Regions from separate parts of the Homo sapiens genome. Here region 2 is linked to region 1. Evidence: promoter capture Hi-C in 16 types of primary human blood cells and fetal thymus (Javierre and others, 2016). All regions are on one chromosome and are shown on one strand. Each heading gives the region's core, a stretch centred on a gene start or on the middle of the fragment in contact. The rest is flanking DNA. Distances are from core to core; before and after follow the strand shown.

Region 1 (5,453 bases), core at 1,367-3,866:
GAGGCAAAATCTCATCTGTGATGTAGATGCCATCTATTTTCCTTCATGTTATTATAATATGAAATGCTCTCTGGGTCAGTTATGTTATTTCGTTCATGCTAAAATCATATCCTTCAGGAAAATTATGAGGTGGAGAAAAGAGAGAAGGGAAAGAACAATTGACTTGTTTCTACTATGGGCCAGACTCTATGTAGCAGCATTTTTTATGATTTCTGTGTGAGTCTTCATGTCAGTTATTGGTGGGGATTTTTCTTCTAGATATTTATAATATTTTGAATGGAATTTCAATCACACTCTACATGCTGTCTCATAGTCGGCTAATACAAAACATATTTCATTGCTTTGTCCACTTCATAAAAATATTTGCCTGGACAAAGCTTAGTAAACCTGGCAAGCACCATCTTGTGACCAGAACCAGAACTGCAGACACTCAGGCTTCTAGAATTTTTCATTCTCAGTTTAAGAGTTCTGTGCATGTGTTATACAAAAATGGGATCATAATGTTCTCATTTTAATATTTTTCATCATAATATCTCTCATGCAAATTGTATATATCTTTCTACATCTTTTGGATTTCCAAAGAAGAAAGGAAATCTCCACAACAATGGTCAAAATGTAATGGTTTGCTCTGTATATTTCTAGATTTTTTTCTGTAGAGACTTACCAATGTGGAAGCTTTTTGAAACTAGACCCTTTATTCCTCCAGTAATATATTTGAACATCTTTCCATATCAATAATTATTTTCCATATCATCTTTTTGTGAATTGCTTTACAAAATTTTTTCCACATTTCTAAAATTTTATGTTTTTCTCATGATGAAAATTATTCAGGCTTGCTCTTTTCAAAATGAAATTTTTAAAATGGGGAAATGTAATACATAGAAGGTTAAAATATTCTGTCTATTAATTGGAGATATGTGTGGAGATATAAGAACACTTATATCTCCAATTAATAAAGTGGCATGTATTATTTCCAGATTTCTCCAATTAATAAAGTAGCATGTATATTTCCAGGTTTTTATTGCATACACTGTACGAATGCATGCACATTCTTTTTGGTAAACAAATAGGATTACATGATACAGGCCATTCTTCAATTTGCTTATTTTTAGAAACTACCTTGGACATTTACTCTAATCATTGCATTTAGAGTTAACTCATTCCTTTTACAGCTGCGTAGTATTCAACATTATAGATATACTATCCTATATGACTATGTCATAATATGTTTAAAACATTTTACGAATTATTCCTCAGGAGTATAAAGATAAATATGTTCTGCTTGAACCAGAGTCTGGACTATAGCCTCAATAGTTGAATTGCAAGAAAAGCACAAGCAATCAGGTAATGAGCCTTCTCAGACCCATAGAAAAATCCTACTGCAGCTAAAGACAATGGAATGTGTGTGTGGCTATTTGCTCAAGTGTCTGTAACAAAAGTGATTATTCCCTTTTCAGCTCCATTATCGTTTCCAAAAGAATCTAAAAGTACATAAAAATCTAAAGATGAAAATACACATCATCAGTACTCAAACCCTGAGTTGTTCACGGCATACATTTGATGTCTAATCCTTTTTATTTTTTTCCTCATCACATACATGTTTGAATATACTATTTAAAATTACATTTATTTAGCCACATATTTGAACACCTTTCCCTGTTTATATATGAGTTTACGCTATTTTGGGGAAAGTAGCTTTTCCCCATGATTTTAAGTTCTCATCTCAGTTTCTATGCCGACATAGAAACTACATGCTAAGTAAAATGTGGAAGAAAGAAGTGGAAAATTTCCTCCTTTTTCCCCTGACATCCTTTTTTATCAGGCATCCTTTATTACTAAGTATATTGTTTGTTGTGTTTTATTATACTAATGCACGTCTGTTATTGTTATGATCTTTTAGATTTTTTCCATTGCAGTACAAATAGGAATGTACAATTCTCTTGAGAGATAGGTAGAAGTACAGACAAAGATCATATTTTGCACATTATTTAAAAAGCTATTATATTAAGTCATTGTGTATCCCTTGACAAATAACCAAACTAATTCTCAGAGATACTCGAATTTGCACAGTTATGCATTACTTTAAATTACTAACATACTCCACCAAAACAGTAAGATTTGTTAGAAACACAACACATTCAAAGTAATATAAAAAACCAACATCCCCAACAACTTAATTTTTCATTTAAGACTATTACAACCTTTTTCAAAATAAGGAAGATTAAACTCCCAAGTTTTGTTTCATCATTTATCTCAGCCACCACTGCCTTTTGATGGAAACATAAAATGCTCTATTAAAAAGTTAGCTTTTGCTACCTCTTTAAGAATATTTTTCCACAGGTGTAATGTTGATTACCACCTCCCCGACTGTGGACTTTTAAAATAATCTGAAGGAACACAAAACACAGATATTAATTCCCTCACAGAAACAACGACCCTCACAGAACGACACTCCTTTCCCGTTATTCCTAAGCAGCACTCTCTTCTTTTCTCACCTTTATTCCAAATCTTCGAGAACTCTCTGAAAATAACTAGCATTTACGACAGCCATTACCTCCAAGCTTCTCCACGGAAGCCTCCGAAGCCTGTGTGTAATGCAGCTCCTCCCCGAAGACTGGCTGGGCGCAGCTTTCTTCCAAGCTCCTAGAGGATGCTCCGCCCCCTCTCCGTGATGGGGAAAGCACGAGGTTCTTCCTTCGCTTAGGAGAAAAATGACCAACTTAAACCGAAATACAGTTAAAGGGAAGAAATGTTCCTCTTAAAGTACTTTAAAGTGTAATGGTAACCTATGTCTGTTCAATTTCCATTCAACCCCCTAGGATAGGTGTTTTAATGGAAAAAGAGAAGCAACAGCAAATCTCTTTTTCATATAATAAAGATGTGGTTAAAACGTTCCTTACATATATTTTTTCTGATCCTCTTTTGTACTTTATTTCTGGTAAATTTAAGACCTACTGGCCAAACTTCACAAAAAAACATACGCTAAGTATTTTGATTTGGATTACAGTGAATTAATACTTTATTTTAGGTAGAATTAATTCTTTACAATTTTGAATCTGAACCTGGGACATAATATATCTCTCCTTTTATTCAAGTTTCTTATACTTCTTTCCTTAGGTCATTTCCAAAGAAAAATCCTCAGACAAAATCTGATTATACTGAAATTGAAAAAAAAAATGTATTAAGCGTAAAATCACCATAGGCCAAGTTAAAAAATCAGCCGCAAACTTAGGAGTGCTTTTCAAGTGCTTTTGTTTGTCCATATGATTAGATAAACAAAAATATACCCAAGCTAGTTCTTTCATTTCAATAAGAAAGAAATGAACAACAAAGTAGAGAAAGGGGCAAAGAACACAAGCAGAGAATTCCCAACGTCCTTCCCTATTCCTGATATTCACTTCACTGTGAAGAAATCTCAAAGCAGTGTAACTTGAAGGCTCTCTGCGTCTTCTAGACTAGAGAAATATGCTTCTAGGCTGATGGATAGGTTTCCTTAAGTCTGGAGTTCTGTTAGTCTCATTTCACTCTCACAAGCAAAGTCCTGCAATTTATCTTCCCCTCTTAATAAAGCTGACAATTTTGGTTTCATCTGCTATTCAACTTATTTTTACCACATTTTCTTCATTATTTTTAAGATATGACAATTGTAAACTTTTTGTACCCACGAGATTACCTCAAAATGTATAATAATGCAAAAATGGATAGAAATACATTATTGGGCAAGTAAGAAAAATTTGATTAGCTCTTATAGAAGTAAAAGGAACTGGTGGTCAGTGCCTCCTCCTGAGGCTCTTTTACCTACAAAGTACTTTGATCTCTCCCAGATTAATGTCTGTTTATTTTGGTCTTGGAATGTGATTTTTTTGTACAATTGACAAAAATTATATATATTCAAGATGGGTAATGTGATGATTTGATATATGTGTACACTGTGAAATGATTACCACAATCAAGCCAGGTAACATATCCATCACCTCACATAGTTACCATTTCGTGTGAGATGAGAACGCTTTAGATCTACCTTCTTAGCAAATTTCAAATATACATTACATATTATTAACTACAGTCACCTTTTCATGTACCTTTTGACCATTTGCACATTTTCATTGGAAAAAATAACTACCCAGTGTCTTTTACTCATTTTTAAAATCAGGTTACTTGCTAGTTTTTTCTTGACATTGAGTTTTATAAGTTTCTTATTGTGGGTATTAATTTTATAAGTTTCTAATTGTGGATATTGACTCCTTATTGGATGCATGGTTTGCAAATATTTTCTCCCATTCCATGGGTTACCTTTTCATTCTGTTGATTATTTTCTTTGTTGTGCAGAAACTTTAGTTTGATGTAGTCCCACTTGTTTATTCATGTGATTTCTAATAGCAAGTTATCTCAAAAGCTCTGATATAATTTCAAAGCTCAAAGCTTCTCAGTATTGCAGCTCTATAAAAACCGCTTCTGTTCATGAAACATTCTGCAAAATTGTGGGACAAATTCTGCTAATGTGTAACAAGGACATAATACTAAGAATAATAGTTTATTGAAATATAACAACATCAAGAACAGAGAACTGATAAACTGTGTTCTATAAAGTCACAAGACCTTGAGAAACATTGCTATCCAGAATGAAAAGACTCTACTCTAAAGTGTCGCTTTTTTATTATTGTTGACATCAGTTTTATTTTCTTTGGTATTAAAAAGTGCTCTAAAAAACCAGTGGTTGCACCACTTAGAATGGCAATCATTAAAAAGTCAGGAAACAACAGGTGCTGGAGAGGATGTGGAGAAATAGGAACACTTTTACACTGTTGGTGGGACTGTAAACTAGTTCAACCATTGTGGAAGTCAGTGTGGCGATTGCTCAGGGGTCTAGAACTAGAAATACCATTTGACCCAGCCATCCCATTACTGGATATATACCCAAAGAACTCTAAATCATGCTGCTATAAAGACACATGCACACGTATATTTATTGCGGCATTATTCACAATAGCAAAGACTTGGAACCAACCCAAATGTCCAACAATGATAGACTGGATTAAGAAAATGTGGCACATATACACCATGGAATACTATGCAGCCATAAAAAATGATGAGTTCATGTCCTTTGTAGGGACATGGATGAAATTGGAAAGCATCATTCTCAGTAAACTATCGCAAGAACAAAAAACCAAACACCGCATATTCTCACTCATAGGTGGGAATTGAACAATGAGATCACATGGATACAGGAAGGGGAATATCACACTCTGGGGCCTGTTGTGGGGTGGGGGGAGGGGGGAGGGATAGCATTGGGAGATATACCTAATGCTAGATGACGAGTTAGTGGGTGCAGCGCACCAGCATGGCACATGTATACATATGTAACTAACCTGCACAATGTGCACATGTACCCTAAAACTTAAAGTATAATAAAAAAAATAAAAATAATAAAAAATAAAAAATAAAAAAAACCA
Region 2 (5,453 bases), core at 1,509-4,008, 130 kb after region 1:
TGGAAGGCCTGGCTTTAGAAGACCTCATTGCTGCCATAGAGAAGTCTGAAAAATGTAAGTAGTTAATAGATTGTGAGGTGAAGTGGATGCTTATGATGGCACTAGAAAGCTTTAAAAAAGAAGCCTAAATTCTTGCTCAGAAGCCTAATTTCTTGGCTCAAGTGCTCCAGGAATATATGGAAGACAGGGAACATGTAAATATAATTTCTGGAGAGCTAAGTTAGCCAAATCCTATGCTTGCCATTTGATCCTGTGTATTACCAAATTACAGAATTTGTTGATTTCTCAACATTGATGTCGGTTTTGTCGAAATTAGTCACTGAAATGCAAAGAGTAAAAATTCAAGAATAGGACAGTTGAGAGAGTTAAAAGAACCTCAACTCCAAATCCCCACTGAGCCTCTCTTGCCAGCAAAAGCAGTCTTTCTCTTTGTCCAATGCAGCTGTTTCTCCTTTGCTTACACACCCGGTAATTTCCTTGCCCGTGAGACTTAAATTGCAAAAAGAAGCCAATTTTCCTAATGCCACCATCTCACAACTATTGTTGTCTCCAGACCTGTAAGCAGAGTAAGATCCCATCATTTCTCTCCAGACTAGGGTGGAGGATCAAATATCAAAACAATGAGAAAAGTGTTTACAAACTGAAAGAACTGTGGAACGTTGAACATTTCTAAAATAAAATTTGTGTGGGAATAATTATGAGGGTGTTCATTCAAAAAAGGAGATATATAATTTTAGATCTGATTGAATTTATTGATATGGTAAAACTTCCTAGAGAGTCTTTATTCAATGTGCTACTCTAGCAGCTTTACACAAGACTGAAATTATTGTGATAAATATAAGTTTGCAAGATCTTACACCTTCTCAATCAATTGCATCTGAAGGAGAATGTATTAGCAGAAAGCAGAAATGAACAGCAGTAGGGGGTAGAGATAAAGCCCAGGGAATATGGAGACTTGAGGTGAGGGAATATATGATAACAGAAGAAAGGGAAGAGAATTATCTGTTTCTGGATCCCCACTTTGTACGGGGCACTATTATAGGAGCTTCTGGACACCACCTCTAAATTTCATTTTATACTCTCAATAACCACATGACATGGGAATCATTATTATTTCCACTTTAGAGGTGAGAAAACTGAGGTTCAAGGATACTAGGTAACTTGTCCCAAATTACACAGTTACAACATAGAGACATGGCAGGGGCACAGGTCTAATGCCTGTGATGCCAGAGCACAGGGCAAGGGAGTCTGCAGAGGGAAGGGTACCTTTCTCTTATGTCGGAGATAAGCCCTGCTAGCAAAGCTCAGCTGAATCAGAAGCAGCAGAAAACAACCTGTGCCATTGTCTGACTATGCCACCAGAGGGCACAGGTTTGGAAGTTTTCTTTTTACACAGTCTTTTGCTGTTTTCTCTGCAGGGACTTGCTGTAGCTGAGAGAGCAATGTGTTATATTACATGGACTAACCTCGCAGTCTAGAGACTTGAGCTTGTCACTCCCTTTCTTTAGGACACATGTACTAGTGACCATCACATTTGTGAGGTGTGCCTTCTTCAATATGGGCAGCGGGTGTCAGGTAGTTAGAAAGACCTCTTGGGTTCAGGACTGATATTTACCAACCAGCTCTGAAACCTCAGTGCTGACTGTGGTTCTTTCCACACAGTGGGAGCTTAGTCTATGTTTTGTTAAGAAGAAATAATGGTACACAGAGTCACCCTCTGTCTATCCCCCAGTGGCTTCCCAGTGCCCTCAAGGTAAAGTCAGTACTATTTGTCCTGGATTATAAGTCCTACCATAGACTGCATCTAGGCTTAGTTCGAACTAGCTCCTCATTCCCTGCCTCCCCTCCCACTACAAATTAACACATAGATTCTTAATGTAGTACTGAAGCTGGCAGGGTCTGGAATCTGATGCTTCACAAAATGTCTGTAGTAAAATGCTTCACATGCCTGTAGTAAATACTCAGAAGCAGGAGTTGCTGTTGCTGCTACTGCTACTGCTACTACTGCTACTACTACTACTACTAGAGCTGGAAACTTTCAGAAGCAGGTTGAACTCAAGTCTCCTGACTGAGTCCAGTTCTTTTTGTTCCCATTGCTTCTTTGCATATAATCAGTACACAATTAATACTGGACAGTGGAATCTTTAATTTCAGTCTCCTTGACTCCTTCTGCATCCTCTTTTGGAGTCCTGTGGCCAGGGGACGGTACAGGGAATTTTAATGACGAGAAGACAGGGCTGGTTTCCCCCTTAGCAGACATATATGTTTGCAGCATCAGAAGTCTAGGGCTGGAAGCTACCTTTGACATCATTTCCTCTGCGAATGCATGTATAATTTCTACAGAACCTATTAGAAAGGATCACCCAGCCTCTGCTTTTGTACAACTTTCCCTTAAAAAACTGCCAATTCCACTGCTGTTTGGCCCAATAGTGAGAACTTTTTCCTGCTGCCTCTTGGTGCTTTTGCCTATGGCCCCTATTCTGCCTGCTGAAGACACTCTTGCCAGCATGGACTTAAACCCCTCCAGCTCTGACAATCCTCTTTCTCTTTTGTTTTACATGAAGGGTCTGGCAGCCAAAGCAATCACTCAAAGTTCAAACCTTATCATTTTTTGCTTTGTTCCTCTTGGCCTTGGTTTTGTACATCAGCTTTGAAAATACCATCCCAGGGTTAATGCTGGGGTTAATTTATAACTAAGAGTGCTCTAGTTTTGCAATACAGGACATGCTATAAAAATGGAAAGATGTTGCTTTCTGAGAGATGCAGGTGGATTCTTGGGCATTTGCTGTAAGTACTTTTTTTCTCTTTGGAAACTTTGAACATCTCTATCAGCAAGTCAGAGTCCCAAATAACCAAGTTGGCAAGTCAGAGTCCCAAACCAAATTCCTGGCTCTAGGGGTGAAGGTCTAAGTGTGGTCATCTAATAATTGACTTTCTACCAGCCTCAGTGACTTTTAAAGAAAGAGGACTCTGATGATGATATGGAGATTGGATAGAGTGGTGAACAAAGGGGGTTGGTATGGAGGATATAGGAGATGGTGTGATCTGTTAGGAGCTGATATAGTAGCTCAGGCCATGAACTGAGAGGCAGAGGCAGCAGGAATGAAGAGAAGGGAGAAGTTTTGAGAGTTATTTAAGAGTTAGTATTCATAAGACATCATGCTTCATTAGATATGGGGAATGAGAATAAAAGGAGGCTATGATTATTCCCAGGTATCTGGCTTAGGTGTCTCTATAGACAGTGATGTGATAAACTGAGATGTGGAATGAAGATGAGGGAGCAAGCTTAAGGTGTAGGGAGATGATATGTTTACATCTGGCAACTTTGAGATTTTCTTATTGAGACTGAGGTCTGTGTGGACCATCCTGGTGGTTATATCCAAAAGAAAGCTGGATAAATGGCTAGGAGCTCAGGAGAGCAATCTGAGAGAGATACAGTTTCTAGCAATTGAGTGCGGAGGGTAAGATCACTCAGGAAGAAGATGGAGGGTGGAGGAAGGATCCTTTTTCTGAGTTCATAGACCTCTTCCTTCTAAGCACACATGTCCACTTTCATTGGATTTCCACACCTGACTTCTTTACTCCATTTCTTTGCACTCTTTCAGGATCAGAGAACCTTACACCTTATCTTTCTGGCTTTCTTTATAATAATTAAAAGTAACATGCATAGGTGTAAGAATAATAGTGTTAAGATGTCTTACAACTTAGAAATGACTGTTTAGATGTTACTAAGATTAATGGTGAAAGAAATGTAAAATTTAGAAAATTATTCTTTCATTTTCTGGTTGTTCGAAAATACCTCTATGGCTTCCATGCATTGCAAAATGCATGAATTTCAGCTCATGACCTTGTACGTGGCTCCATAAACCACCACCCATCCATTCCAACTAATCATATATTGTACAAATTACTTTCATTTTGTCTTTTAGCCAAATAAGATGCGAGTGTTCTCTCATCTCATAGATTTTATCTTAAGAAAATGCCAGATGAAAAAAAAAATCTAAAATTCTAATCTACAATGAATAATGTATACAGAGGGAGTACTAGTTTAACCTAAGAATATCCCCTCTCTCCAAAAGGCTGCCTCTAGTTCAGAAAAAAAGTGATTCAATTTCCATAAATTTAATTTACTCACAGCGTTTTCATAATGTTGCTATAACATCTGAATGACAGTCCATGGCATTATTTCCGTGGTTGCAGCAAGCCACTTCTCCTACTCCCTGTCCATATTAGATGCATCTCCTGTTTTTCAAGGGAGAGAAACCCCTGCTCAGCCCCTGATGAGCACATCATCAAATATTTACTATTGTTTTATTAATCAATGTGGGTGGTTATTATGTGTCTCTGGCTCAGGGAGTGTTTCATCCAACTAAGCTCCCTCAGTGGTTGTCTCACTTCATCTCTTATAGATTAACTTCCTTCCAAAATGTCACCATTCCTGTATCTGGTTCTCTTGGTACTTGGGCTTCATGCTACAATCCACTGTGCATCACCTGAAGGCAAAGTAACAGCCTGCCATTCATCCCAACCAAATGCCACTCTCTACAAGATGTCATCCATTAATGCTGACTTTGCATTCAATCTGTACCGGAGGTTCACTGTGGAGACCCCAGATAAGAACATCTTCTTTTCCCCTGTGAGCATTTCTGCAGCTTTGGTTATGCTTTCCTTTGGGGCCTGCTGCAGCACCCAAACTGAGATTGTGGAGACCTTGGGGTTCAACCTCACAGACACTCCAATGGTAGAGATCCAGCATGGCTTCCAGCATCTGATCTGTTCACTGAATTTTCCAAAGAAGGAACTGGAATTGCAGATAGGAAATGCCCTCTTCATTGGCAAGCATCTGAAACCACTGGCAAAGTTCTTGAATGATGTCAAGACCCTCTATGAGACTGAAGTCTTTTCTACCGACTTCTCCAACATTTCTGCAGCCAAGCAGGAGATTAACAGTCATGTGGAGATGCAAACCAAAGGGAAAGTTGTGGGTCTAATTCAAGACCTCAAGCCAAACACCATCATGGTCTTAGTGAACTATATTCACTTTAAAGGTAAGACTTTCAGATGTCAATTTTCAGTCTAGGGCTCAGATACTTGGGTGGAGTGCTGAGGGGAGCTCATGGTCTCTTATTACTGGCATCAGTAGGTGTCCCTCATACCACAGTGATCTGCTCCACTGGACATAGCTGTGAATAGTATTGGATCTTCCAAGATGGACACACAGCTCTGTGAATGAGTCCAGGAAATTTCTAGGGAGAGCGCCCTTTCAGAGAGGTGGGTGACAATGGTATGAACATCTTGCTCATAATTGGCTAAAGATTCATGGTTTCCAAAAGATTTGGTGAGGTGGGACAAGCTTGCACTTGTCAAGTAGACATATTTGTATGTAAAGCCTACTGTGATTCTCACTTGCTGTACATACTTAGGCATGTTACATACATAATTTTACCATGTAT

Evidence for each region. The method cuts DNA at HindIII sites, captures the fragments that hold promoters and counts their contacts. A CHiCAGO score of 5 or more calls a contact.
Region 2: a contact is called between the fragment with the promoter of SERPINA7 here and the fragment with the promoter of PWWP3B in region 1, in 2 of 17 cell types (total CD8 T cells and endothelial precursors). The highest score is 5.9, in total CD8 T cells.

What each region holds. Positions count from the first base shown.
Region 1 is chrX:106,165,468-106,170,920 of GRCh38, reverse strand. PWWP3B (PWWP domain containing 3B) reads right to left here and starts at 2,616. Exons shown (of 4, transcript NM_001171020.2): 1 at 2,496-2,616. The HindIII fragment of the contact is 1,861 bases long and covers 2,564-4,424 here.
Region 2 is chrX:106,036,032-106,041,484 of GRCh38, reverse strand. It overlaps SERPINA7 (serpin family A member 7), which reads left to right and starts at 2,758. Exons shown (of 5, transcript NM_000354.6): 1 at 2,758-2,787; 2 at 4,410-5,048. The coding sequence starts at 4,427. The HindIII fragment of the contact is 3,176 bases long and covers 112-3,287 here.